4 separate regions of the Homo sapiens genome follow, and all the other regions are linked to region 2. The links are contacts of gene promoters, found by promoter capture Hi-C in human tissues and cell types (Jung and others, 2019). All regions are on one chromosome and are shown on one strand. Each heading gives the region's core, a stretch centred on a gene start or on the middle of the fragment in contact. The rest is flanking DNA. Distances are from core to core; before and after follow the strand shown. Region 1 overlaps CFAP410 (cilia and flagella associated protein 410). Region 2 holds the start of PDXK (pyridoxal kinase). Region 3 overlaps PKNOX1 (PBX/knotted 1 homeobox 1). Region 4 has its middle 30 kb from the start of CRYAA.

Region 1 (2,933 bases), core at 381-2,880, 610 kb before region 2:
GGCTTACCTGACAGGGAAACGTGGAGCTTGTGGTTCCCACGGTGGCAGGAAGCTTGGGGCGGGGCTGTGGATCCAGCCCTATCCCTGCCGCTCACTGAGTCACCCAGGGGCCACAGGGCCTCCGAGCATCAGGCCGCTCGTGTGTGGGGCCATTTCTGTCACATCTCGGGAGGGACAGGACCCCAGGGGTGTTGACCGAGCTCAGGTGCGTGGTGCCTGCACGCCTGACTGCACTGGAGCGGAGCAGGAAGCCTCGAGGCCGCGGACGCGGTCGGTACATCACGCTGCTGCCTGTGCCTGAGGCAGACCCCATCCTGGAAAGAGTCCCACAGCCGGAGTTTTGCTCTTGGTAAAATGGGGCGGCCTCATAGCTAGGAGCTGCATGAGACCTGGGAAACCCCGAGTGAAGGGATGGCATGGGGAGGGGGGCTCAGGACGGCAGGCTGCCCATGGGGGCCTGGTGACCGCCCTTCTGAGGCGCCTGCCGGACGCGAGTGCAGCCCTCCAGGCAGGGGGCCCTGGCTCCGCGCCTTTGAGGGCCTGCGGGAGCGGCTCCGCGTGTTCGCTTGTGGAGGGGACGGACCCCACGCTGCAGGGTAAAGCCTGCAGGTCCCCGCTCCAGGCCTGCTGTTTCTCTTCTCTGACGCGTCCACGTTCTGTAGAATGGAAATGAGGCCCATCCCCAGTGTTGCCGCCCTCAAGTGGGGGTTTGGAAGGTCCGTGCTCACTCCCATGTCACGTGGAGCTGGCTCCTAGTTTTTGCCATGAGTTTTTCTGGCCGCTCCCTGCTTTGGGGCAACATGATATGTCCCCTGAGAGGCCTTAATTTTCCTCACCTGTGAAGGAGGGCCACATCCCCCACCTCCCGCACTCTAGCGCCCTGAGGAGCTGATGTGGAGCGTCGGGCCAAGGGGCTGTTGCTGGTGGGGTCCACCCCAGTCCGCCTTTGAGTTCAGGGCCTGGCCTTCCTACAGCTCTCTCCTCGGCCCAGGTCCTGCTGCACGTGACTTGTGACATCCGATTTAGGCTTCTCAGGAGAGGGCAGGGACACAGGTCCCATGAGTGCCTTTTACTGGGGGTGGGGATTGAGAGGTGGCCCTGGGGGCCCTGGCCACGTCCCTCGCTGACTGTGCTGGTCTCCGTGCAGTGTCAACAGCATCTCCACCCTGGAGCCTGTGAGCCGGTGCCAGCGCCTGAGTGAGCTGTACCTGCGGAGGAACCGCATCCCCAGCCTGGCTGAGCTCTTCTACCTGAAGGGGCTGCCGCGTCTGCGGGTGCTGTGGCTGGCCGAGAACCCGTGCTGCGGCACCAGCCCCCACCGCTACCGCATGACCGTGCTGCGCACCCTGCCGCGCCTACAGAAGCTGGACAACCAGGGTAGGTGGCCGCAGCGGAGTCACCGGCCCTCCCAAAACAATCCCTGGAAGGGGATGTCCCCAGCCCTCTTTTCTCTTCTCCTTTTCTGCAAATACCTGGTCTGGCGGGACATAGATGTGTCCTGTGAAGTCTCCTCCAGAGGCTGTTCCCCTGGCTTCTGTGTCTCCTCTTGATCCCGCCACCCGAATGCAGCAGCGCAGCGTAGGGTCCCTCCTGGGACTGACAGTTTGGGTATCCCCCAACGACCGCAGGACCTGGTAGCAAAGCAAAAGGGTTCCTTCTTTTGCTTCTGTGAGTAGCAGCCCTGCTCTGACCATCGCCATGCGCCATGGCGAGCGGGGGCGTCAGTATCTGGCAAGCAGCATCGCACTGGTCCACAGGGACTGGGCAGGCTCCACGGGCCACTGTGAACCTAGGGTGGCGGTGCCATCGCGCCCCTGCCGTGGGGAGGGGCCGTCCCAGCACCGCAGTGCCTGCTGCTGCGCTCCACCTATTGGAGGCACTCGTGCCTCCTCTAGCCAGCGCCAGCACCGACACAGTTTTCCAGGCTGTGGTTTCATGCTGTTTGTTCATCCTTGGCATTCTCAGCACACTAGTGTCTCATCCTTGTCAGGTATACAGACACCACTATTTTCTCCCAGACAATTTTATTGATATTAATAATATAAACTTCAGGGAAATTGATATATGAGAGAAATGGAATAAATTCAATATGGTCTGTTCCTTTTTCTATTGTGTCTTAGTTGAGGTTTTGAGGAGTATTTGCTTCTGGCCAAGGCTGGTGTTGAGATTCCTGAGCAGCCCTCCACCATCTGTTGTGTGTCAGCCTGTGCCAGGCTGGGGATGGGACAGTGAGGAACCGGCTGCTACTCTGGGAGTTGTCCCTGGAGGTGGATACACGTGCATGCATTTCACAAGCAGACTGTGCCTGAAGCCACAGTGAGGACGGGAGCTGCAGTGCATGTGGCCTGCACGTGGGTGAGGCCACTCATGCTGTCTTCTGTCTTTCATCCCAAAGCTGTGACGGAGGAGGAGCTGTCCCGTGCACTGAGTGAGGGAGAGGAGATCACTGCGGCCCCAGAGAGAGAGGGCACAGGCCACGGCGGCCCCAAGCTATGCTGCACACTGAGCTCCCTCAGCTCCGCTGCTGAGACTGGCCGGGACCCGCTGGACAGCGAGGAGGAGGCAACGTGAGGCTGGAGGGCAGCGGGGACTCCGCAGCCCATCCCTGTCCCCCAGGGTCCTCCCACGGGGAGTGAATGGGGCTTCCCGTGAGCTGCGTCTCTGGGAAGTGAGGGACAGGGATTATCCGGGGGGAGTGTCTGTTCTCATCCATATTCTCTGGGAGTGACTCAGTGCCCAGGTAGTGATTTCAGTGGCAGGTCCATGTTTTGCCCAACAGCGGATGTGCCAGGGAGCAGGAGAGGGGGTGAGCCAGGCCCCGTGCCCTGGCACAGAGAAGGCTCACAGCACCAGAGCTCGTGAGGTGCAGGGAGCCCCTGGTGGGGGGGGTGGCCTAGGGCCACAGTGACTGGAATGGTTTGTGGGCACGGCCA
Region 2 (3,047 bases), core at 461-2,960:
CACACTTCTGCCAAGAGAGTGGACGCTGTCCTCAGAGCCCCCTGGTTCCACACTGCCTGGCTGCCCCTGCTTCAGGCACCCTGCACCTTTCTTCCCAAGCCCAATCCTACCTCTGACTCTGCCCAAGCAATCCGCCAGCCTGTGGTGACCTCCCCCAACCCCCTCAAGCTAGGAGTGGTCCAGAGCAGTGCTTAAGAGCCGGAGCCACAGAACCGGTGCACCCTGACTGTCCCAGGCAGGGTCTGCCTGCAGCTGGATGGAACAGGGTCTCAAGTAAGACCACCTGTGAAGCACCGCATCCTTCCCAACAGGACCTCCACTTACTTCGGACTCGAACCCCCTGCCTTTCCACGCTCAACTCTGCTCAGCTTGGTCCTCCTGGGGGCACGCCTAGGTCAGCCCTCAAATTCCACTGAAGCTCTGCTCCCCTCTTCCTGTCCTCCTCCCAGGCCAGCCCGCACCGCAGGCCCCGCCGTGCCCAGGTGGCCCTTCTTTACATCCCGTGGGGCCCAGCACAGGGACCAGGCATACCTGCTCCCGTCCCCAGTGACCAGGCCGCAGGTGGGCAGCACAGGAGAGCACGACCCGGCAGGGCACCCCCAGCCCTCCTGCTGACTCGACAAGGCCAGGAAGTGCCCGTCGTCCTGGTTCTGCCTCGGCCCTGCGTGACACCCACGCCACTGCACCCAGGCCTCTCCTACCCCTCCACGGGCCACTTAGCTGCAACCAGGAGGCCGTGGGCCAACGCGTTTTAAAAGCTGGCTCCCTAAAGCCAATCCGCACAGTCCCGAACTGCTCTCTGGGGCTTCTCCTCGTCAGAGCAAACACCTGCAGGGATGCCGCTCTGCTAGAGGGTGCAGAGCAGCCCCTGCCCCACCCTCTTCCCTTCGGCCACCTCCTGGCGTGGTCAGGCCGAGGGGAATCCACCCTCGTGGGCACCGTGACCTCACTCGGCGTCTTCTTCCTGACTTCCCCACGCACAGGGGCCCAGGAGGTGAGCGCGCGAGCGTCTCGAGCTCCACGGCCGCTTCTGCGTTCCAGCGGGGCAAGGTCCCGGCTCGCGTGACTGCTCCGGGACTCCTCGGGGCTCTGCGACATTTCCTCGCCTCCGGGAGCCGCACCGCCCGCCCGCCCCCGCGGCAGTTGGCCCGGTCGGCGGGAAGGGGCGAGGACGAGCGGCTGCGCCATAGCTGGTGCACAGGGCTCCCTCCTACCCGCGTACCCCGACGCCGGACCCGTCCCACCCGCAGGGGCCCGCAGAGCGCTCAGCCCTCCGCTTCCGCCCCCGCAAGCCAAGCAGAGCGGGAGGCTCATCCCGCGCCTGCCTCCAGGGCGCCCGCGCCAGGCTCTGCCCGCAGCTCCCGAGCCTCCCTCGGGGAACTGAGGCTCGTCTCGGGCAGCCCCGCCAAGGTCACGGGCTCGGGTTACGTAAGCCCGGGCTGCGGGCGGATGCGTACCTGCAGCGGGAACGTGGCCGCCCGGTTGCCCACGTAGCCGCGGATGACGTGGCTCTGTATGGAGAGCACCCGGCACTCCTCCTCCATGCCGGGCCTGGCCGCGGCGGCGCGGGGCCGAGGCGGGGGCACGGTCTCCGCCGCTCGCTCGGGCTCCGGCTCGGCTCGGGCTCGGGCTCCGGCCCCGGCTCCCCTCGGCTGCGACTCTGGCTCTGGCGCGCGGCGGACCCGATCAGCGCAGACGCCTCCTTCTGACCTCAGCGGGCGGCTCCGAACCCGCGAGTTCCGCGCGGCGCCGGGGGCTGGCCGGGGGCGGACCGGGGCGGGGACAGCCACGCAGGCCCCGCCCCCGGGCTGGGAGGAAGCGAAACCGGACCCTGGCCGCGCGGCCGCGCCAGGTGGCCCCCGCCACTCTGCCGCCCGAAACGCTGGGTTTGCACTTTCATTCCGCCTGGAGAGGGCTCTGCAGCGCCGTTCATTCGTTCGTTCATTCATTCATTCAACCATTGTGCTCCGCCTCAGCCCTGCGCCCCGCGCCCCGCGCCCCGCGCCCCGCCGCACGCAGGGGAGACTCGGGGGCCCGGGCTCCACGCCCCTGACCTCCGGGCGCGACACTCTCGCAACGCGGATGGCCACGAGAGTGCGCGCGGGCGTGGGAATAGTGCGGAGGCGCGAAAGTGACCCCGGACCCCGGATACCCAAGGGAACCGCGCTCTCAACTGCCTGCAGGGCCCGGAGCCCGCATCCGATCCGCGTCCCTTCCCAGGGGCCGCGCGGGAGCTGACAGACACGGGGCCGGGGGGACCCAGTCAACTCCGCACCGGCCTGGGGCGGCGGGCTTCTCTGGGGGCGCCCCAGACCCTTGCGGACCCTGAGTGCCCACTCTGGTGGCGCGGCCTGCAGAGGCCCCCAGCCGATGGCCACATGCCCGGCCGTCCATCCACAGGTGCCTGGGTCTGGGCCGCGTGTCCGATCCCACCCCAACCAGGTCTTCCTGTGGAGGGCCTGCCTTCGAGGACGAACCTGACCCCCTGGGGGACCCCACAGCCTTCACTTCCCACCCCTACGCTCTCCACAGCTGACGCACTCCCTGCGGCTTCCCTGCACCACCCCGGGGAACGGAGGCCTTTGGGTTCCAGACTTGCAGACATGGTGATTTGGGGCCCTGGGGTCAGTATCACCAGACTAAAGTCTTGGTGACCTAACACAGCGCACCTAGGGCTCTGTAGCTTGGTGAGACCCAATGCCCGACCAGGCGGGTGCTGAGGACTGAGGGAGGAAGACATTACTTAGAGATCTAGGCTTTTAAAAGAAAGTACTTCATAATTAGTCATAATTGTCCATTAATAATAGCTAACATTGGCCGGGCGCGGTGGCTCACGCCTATAATCCCAGCACTTTGGGAGGCTGAGTTGAGCGGATCAAGAGGTCAGGAGTTCAAGACCAGTCTGGCCAACATAATGAAACCCCATCTCTACTAAAAATACAAAAATTTAGCTGGGTGTGGTGGTGTGCACCTGTAATCCCAGCTACTTGGGAGGCTGAGGCAGGAGAATTGCATGAACCCAGGAGGTGGAGGTTGCAGTGAGCCAA
Region 3 (3,184 bases), core at 424-2,923, 720 kb after region 2:
TCGAAACCAGCCTGACCAAAATAGCGAAACCCCATCTCTACTAAAAATACAAAAATGAGCTGGGCATGGTGGCACATGCCTATAGTCCCAGCTACTTGGGAGGCTGAGGCAAGAAAATCACTTGAACCTGGGAGGCAAAGGTTGCAGTGAGCCGAGATCGTGCCACTGCACTCCAGCCGGGATGACAGAGACTCTATTAAAAAAAAAAAAATCAAATACAAAAACTAGCTAAATTAGCTGAGTACAGAGGCTCACACCTGTAATCCCAGCACTTTGGGAGGCCAAGGTGGAAGGATCACTTGAGCCCAGGAGTTCAAGACCAGCCTGGGCAACAGAACGAGACCCCATCTCTACAACAAATTTTTTTAAAAATTAGCTGAGCATGGTGGCTAACTTATATGGGTTTCTATGTAGTTGTGCTAGCTTCCAAAGAGTTCCAAATAAACAAAACTTGCAGCAAACACATCTGAGAAGGTCTGTAACAATACAGCCACAACACAGTCAGCCACTTTGTTGGGAGACAATTCTTTATGAGAACTGTCCATGGTGAGACTCCATTTTTAAGTCTCAGCATCTAGGCTTTCTAAGCAAACTTCTTAAAGGATGATGGACTTACACACACATCTGGAAAGCTGGCGCCAATGCACTGCTCAGGAGAGATTGGGACTCCCCGAGTGTTTATGGTCCAGAGGAGTGATGCTAGCGGCCTTCCACAAGAATCCTGTTAGGTCAGTTCAGCCAGAACCCCCTGCACCCTGATGTTTCCTCTTAGTTAAATTTTCCGTCCATGGCCCCCACTCCTGCTCCTAGGTCTCCCCCACTACACAATCCCATTGCAGCAGTCCCTATACCTATCATGATCATCCTGAACAGCCTGCCCTTTGTCTTGCTTTTCTGAGACAAGGTCTTGCTCTGTCACCTAGGCTGGAGTACAGTGGTGCAATCATGCAGCCTCGAACCCCTGGACTCAAGTGATCCTCCTGCCTCAGCCTCCCACGGAGCTAGGACTACAGGCTCACACCACCACACTTGGCTAATTTTTAAAAATTTCTGTAGACATGAGGTTTCACTTTGTTGCCCAGGCTGGTCTCAAGCTCCTGGCCTCAAGCTATCGTCCTGCCTTGCCTCCCAAAGCACTAAGTGCCTTGCTAACTTTAATAAGGGTCAGAATAAGTTTTTCTTTAAAAATATAAATACATAAATGAATAGATGGGGAGCAGAAAAAGCTCTAAAATACAAGAGTTCTCTAACGTGTAGAGGATGACGACAGCTTTCAAACATCACCATTCGGCAACCACCACAGTAAGCCGTTTCAGACAGGAATCATCGATGGATGCTAACACTAGTTTGTGAAAGTATGAGAAACAGGAAATGTACATAATCTCAAAGTACCTGCCACAAGATACATTTCATTTTTTATTTTTTTGAGATGGGTTCTTGCTCTATTCCCAGGCTGGAATGCAGTGGCAAGACTCTGGCTCACTGCAGCCTCAACCTCCCAGGTTAAAGCAATCCTCACACTTCAGTCTCTTGAGTAGCTAGAACTATAGGCACATGCCACCATACCTGGCTAATTTTTGCATTTTTTTGTAGACAGGGGTCTCACTCTGTTGCCCAGGCTGGTCTTGAACTCTTGGGCTCAAGCCGTCCTCCTACCTCCGCCTCCCAAAGCGCTGGGATTACAGGCATGTGCCACAGCACCAGGCTCAAGACACTTATTAATTACAAAGGGAAAACAATGATGCAATGAAAAGGATACACTCTACTGGCTTCTGTGCAGTCCTTCCTAAAATGCAAGCTGTGAGTCCAATCCTCAGGACACACCCAGGAACCCAAACTGAGAGGCACTCTATAAAGAAACTGGCAAAAATAAAAGTAAACGGCCAGGTGTGGTGGTTCACACCTGTAATCCCAGCACTTTGGGAGGCTTAGGCAGGTGGACTACCTGAGGTCAGGAGTTCGAGACCAGCCTGGCCAAGATGGTAAAACCCCGTCTCTACTAAAAATACAAAAATCAGCTGGATATGGTGGCAGGCACCTGTAATCCCAGCTACTGGGGAGGCTGAAGCAGAAAAATCGCTTGAACCCAGGAGGCGGAGGCTGCAGTAAGTCAAGATTGCGCCACTGCACTCCAGCCTGGGCGACAGAGCAAGACTCTGTCTTAAAAAAAAAAAAAAAAAAAAAGAAGAAAGAAAAAGAAAAGAAAAGAAACAACAACCAAATGTGGTATGTGATCTTGGTTTCAAAAACAAACACTGTAAAAGACAACTTAAGGAAATTTGAGGAGATGTGAATATATAGTATTATATACTATTAGAGATTGAGTGTTATTTTGATGGTGTGATAAAGCTATAAGCTCACAGCATAAATATCACCATTTTGAGAAGTACGTGCTCAATGTTTAGTTGTATGACCATGATATCCAAAACTTACTTTCAAATGGATCAATAAAAATATAAACATAAATAAATTGGGTCCAGATAACAATAACTGTTGAATCTAGGTAGCAGATAATCAAGATTCTACTCTCAGATTGTCTTTCAAAATGTTCATAATATGAGGGAAAAGTCAGAATTTCAAAATGTATAGATTGGTAGTCCTTCTCTCTAACAAAACTGGTTAAAACAGTCAGGTACAGTGGCACGTGCCTGTAATACTAGCATTTTGGGAAGCCAATGTGGGTGGATCACTTGAGGCCAGGAGTTCAAGACCAGTCTGGCCAACATGGTGAAACCCCGCCTCTACTAAAAATACAAAAATTGGCTGGGTGCAGTGGCTCACGCCTGTAATCCCAGCACTTTGGGAGGCTGAGGTGGAAGGATCGTTTGAGCTCAGGAGTTCAAGACCAGCCTGGGCAACAAAGTGAGACCTTATCTCTACTAAAAATCCAAAAATTTAGCTGGGCATGATGGCACATGTCTGTAGTCCCAGCTGCTTGAGAGGCTGAGGCAGGGGGATCACTTGAGTCCGGGAGGTCGAGGCTGCAGTGAGCCGTGATCATACCACTGTACTCCAGCCTGGGCGACAAAGGGAGACCCCGCCTTGCCTTAAAAAAAAAAAAAAAAAAAAAAGGCTGGGCGCGGCGGCTCACACCTGTAATCCCAACACTTTGAGAGGCTGAGCCAGTGGATCACCTGAGGTCAGGAGTCTGAGACCAGCCTGGCCAACATGGTGAAACCCCGTG
Region 4 (2,800 bases), core at 128-2,627, 520 kb after region 2:
ACAAAAAATTACTATGACTTACAGTAAGTGTGACCATGGAATTGGGATCACTCGAGAAAATATCCAGTTTTTACAGAGGCAAACTATAATATGCAGCAGTAAAATCGTATAGTATTGGAGGTCTGCTTCAAAATTTTTCCGCATAGAGAAAATAAACAACTGAATTGGTGAAGCAAATATCCTATATTCTTGATAATTGTGAAATTTGAGTGGCGGGTATATGGATGGGTTTCTTTGAACTACTCTCTCAATTTTGAGTACATTTGCACATTTCATAAAATATTAACATTATACCTATTTTACATTTAATTTTCTGAAGACATACATATAAGGCATGTCTTATGCCTTATAAGGATTTTTTCAGCACCTCAATTCATTTTTATGAACATTAATTATCACTGTTCCTTAAAGTAGATAGACAGGTAAATGGTATAGCTCTTAGCTTCTGAAATACTGTGGAAGTTTAATTCCCTGTGGTCAGAGAATATATTCTGCCTGATTTAAATCTTTTTAACTTTGAGAATTGTTTGATAGTCAAAATATTATCTACTTTGGTAAATTCTATACGCACCTGCAAACAATACGTATTTTGCTTTTGTTAGTTGGAATTCTACACAAATGTCAATTAGATCAAGTTGGTTGATAGCATGTTCAAGTCTTCCATATTCTTATGAATTTTCTGTCCACTATTAATAATTGAGAGAGAAGTTTTGAAATCTCTAAGTATAGATTTCTATTTCTCTTTTCAGTTCTATTATTATTTTCTTTGTGTATTTTGAAGGTTTATTATTGGGAATATACAAATTGAGGGTTGTTATTTCTTCTTGGTGAATTAATTTGCTTTTTCATCATCATGAAATGTCCCTCTTTATCTCTGGTAATATTATTCCTTTCCTACAGTCTACTGTGTTAGCCACTCCAGCTCTCTTGTGATTACTGTTTGCATGGTGTATCATTTTCCTCCTTCCACTTTTATTTCTCTGTCTTTGTATTTAAAGCTAATTTCCTGTAGTTAGCATATAATTGGGTCTTGCTTTTTTAATCTAGCCTGACAGTTTCTGCATTTTAATTAGAATGTTTAAACCATTTACATTTGATATAATTATTAACATAGTTGGGTTCAAGTCTACCAACTTGATATTTGTTTTCTATTTGATTCATCTTCTTTGTTCTTTTATTTTTCCTTTCCTGGCTTATTTCAGATTGGGTTTTCCAGGATTCCGTTTTTACCTTAAAAGAAGTTCTTTTTATATTTATTGATGAATAGGCACACTAGTAAAAATATTAATTTTTTGTGTGTATCTGAAAAAGTATTTCACCTTCATTTTGGAAAGATATGTTTGCTAAATATAAAATTTTTGGTTAATAGATTCTTTTTCTCTGAGTATTTTAAAGATGTCATTCCACTGCCTTCCAGCTTGCGTTTTTCTAAAGAGAAGTTTGCAGTCACCTTATTGTTGTTCCCCTAAAATGTAAGGATTCTCCTCCTCTAGACACTCTTAAAATTTTCTTTTTATCATAGGTTTTCAGCAACTTGATTATGATATACCTTGATATACTTTTATTAGTGTTTACGCTGTTTGAGATTTGTTTTACTTTTTGGACCTGTGGGTTTACACTTTTTATCAAATTTGACAACTTTGGGGGCCATTATTTTTCCTAATGCATTTTCTCGCTACTCTCTCTCACCCTTCTTTTGTTCTTGAATTCCAATTACAAGCATGTTAGACAACATTCCTGAGGCTCTGTTCATTTTTTCCAGTCTTTTTCCTCTATATACTTCTGTTTTGACAGGTTTTATTGCCCTGTCTTCAAGCTTACTGATCTTTTTTTCTGCAGTTTTTAATCTGCTGTTGATCCCCTCTAGTGAACTTTTCAGTTGAAAAATTATTTTTCATTTCTAGACATCCCATTTTTTTTTCAATACCTTCCTTTTCTCTTCCGTTTGCATTCATGTTTTCTGTTACATGCTTGAGCATATTTATAATAGCCATTTAAAATTCTTTTATCTACTAATTCTATCATTCCCATCATTCCTGGGCCTGATTTGATGGACTGATATTTTCTCCTAGTTATGGATCACAATCTTTGCTTCACATATCTCACCATATTTTATTGGGTGACAGGCATTTTGAATATAACATTGATAAACGTATAGATTTTTTTTTCCTTTATAAATAGTGTTGACATTTGTTCTGGCAAGTAATAAAGTTACTTGCAGATGAGGTTGATCTTTTTGAGGCTTGCTTTTACATTTTTTTGGGGTTATCTAGAGTTGCCTATACTCTAGAGTTAATTTATTCCTACTACTAAAGCTTGATCCTTTGTATTCTCTATTTTTTTTTCTTTTTTTTTTTGAGACGGAGTTTCACTCTTGTTGCCCAGGCTGGAGTGCAGTGGCGCGATCTCACCTCACTGCAACCTCCGCTTCCCAGGTTCAAGTGATTCTGCTGCCTCAGTCTCCCGAGGAGCTGGGATTACAGGCATGCGCCACTACGCCCAGCTAATTTTTTGTATCTTTAGTAGAGACGGTGTTTCTCCATGTTGGTCACGCTGGTCTCGAACTCCTGACATCGGGTGATCCGCCCATCTCAGCCTCCCAAAGTGCTGGGATTACAGGCGTGAGCCGTGTATTGTCTATTGATTGCCCCAAGTGCTCTATGAGGTCTCCAACTGAATAGAAGGAGTTCAAATTTCTTGCAGCCTGGTGTGAGTTCTAGGAATTGTTCAGCTTAACACCTCACTGTTCTTTATTCACTTCCTGGAATTCCACCTACGCATGTACAGATTGGTATTAAGT

Evidence for each region. Contacts are between HindIII fragments. The study calls those that stand out against the background at their distance.
Region 1: a fragment that was not itself captured here is called in contact with the fragment with the promoter of PDXK in region 2 in 1 of the 25 tissues and cell types used here (dorsolateral prefrontal cortex).
Region 3: a fragment that was not itself captured here is called in contact with the fragment with the promoter of PDXK in region 2 in 1 of the 25 tissues and cell types used here (spleen).
Region 4: a contact is called between a fragment that was not itself captured here and the fragment with the promoter of PDXK in region 2, in 3 of the 25 tissues and cell types used here (dorsolateral prefrontal cortex, liver and lymphoblastoid cells).

Annotation. Positions count from the first base shown.
Region 1 is chr21:44,331,477-44,334,409 of GRCh38, reverse strand. It overlaps CFAP410 (cilia and flagella associated protein 410), which reads left to right. Exons shown (of 7, transcript NM_004928.3): 4 at 1,148-1,377; 5 at 2,396-2,567. Among named protein-coding and RNA genes, the nearest start is that of CFAP410, 6.4 kb to the left of the region's middle. RefSeq lists enhancers at 2,041-2,540, 2,541-2,933. The HindIII fragment of the contact is 7,900 bases long and covers 1-2,933 here.
Region 2 is chr21:43,717,792-43,720,838 of GRCh38, reverse strand. PDXK (pyridoxal kinase) reads right to left here and starts at 1,710. Exons shown (of 11, transcript NM_003681.5): 1 at 1,458-1,710. The coding sequence starts at 1,544. LOC124905032 (a long non-coding RNA gene) reads left to right here and starts at 2,291. Exons shown (of 2, transcript XR_007067896.1): 1 at 2,291-2,624. RefSeq lists silencers at 722-911, 1,069-1,378, 1,419-2,208 and enhancers at 108-1,017, 2,359-2,408. The HindIII fragment of the contact is 22,908 bases long and covers 1-3,047 here.
Region 3 is chr21:42,993,919-42,997,102 of GRCh38, reverse strand. The region is part of intron 1 of PKNOX1 (PBX/knotted 1 homeobox 1); the gene reads right to left. Among named protein-coding and RNA genes, the nearest start is that of PKNOX1, 21 kb to the right of the region's middle. The HindIII fragment of the contact is 8,048 bases long and covers 1-3,184 here.
Region 4 is chr21:43,197,569-43,200,368 of GRCh38, reverse strand. No RefSeq gene overlaps it. Among named protein-coding and RNA genes, the nearest start is that of CRYAA, 30 kb to the right of the region's middle. The HindIII fragment of the contact is 5,641 bases long and covers 1-2,800 here.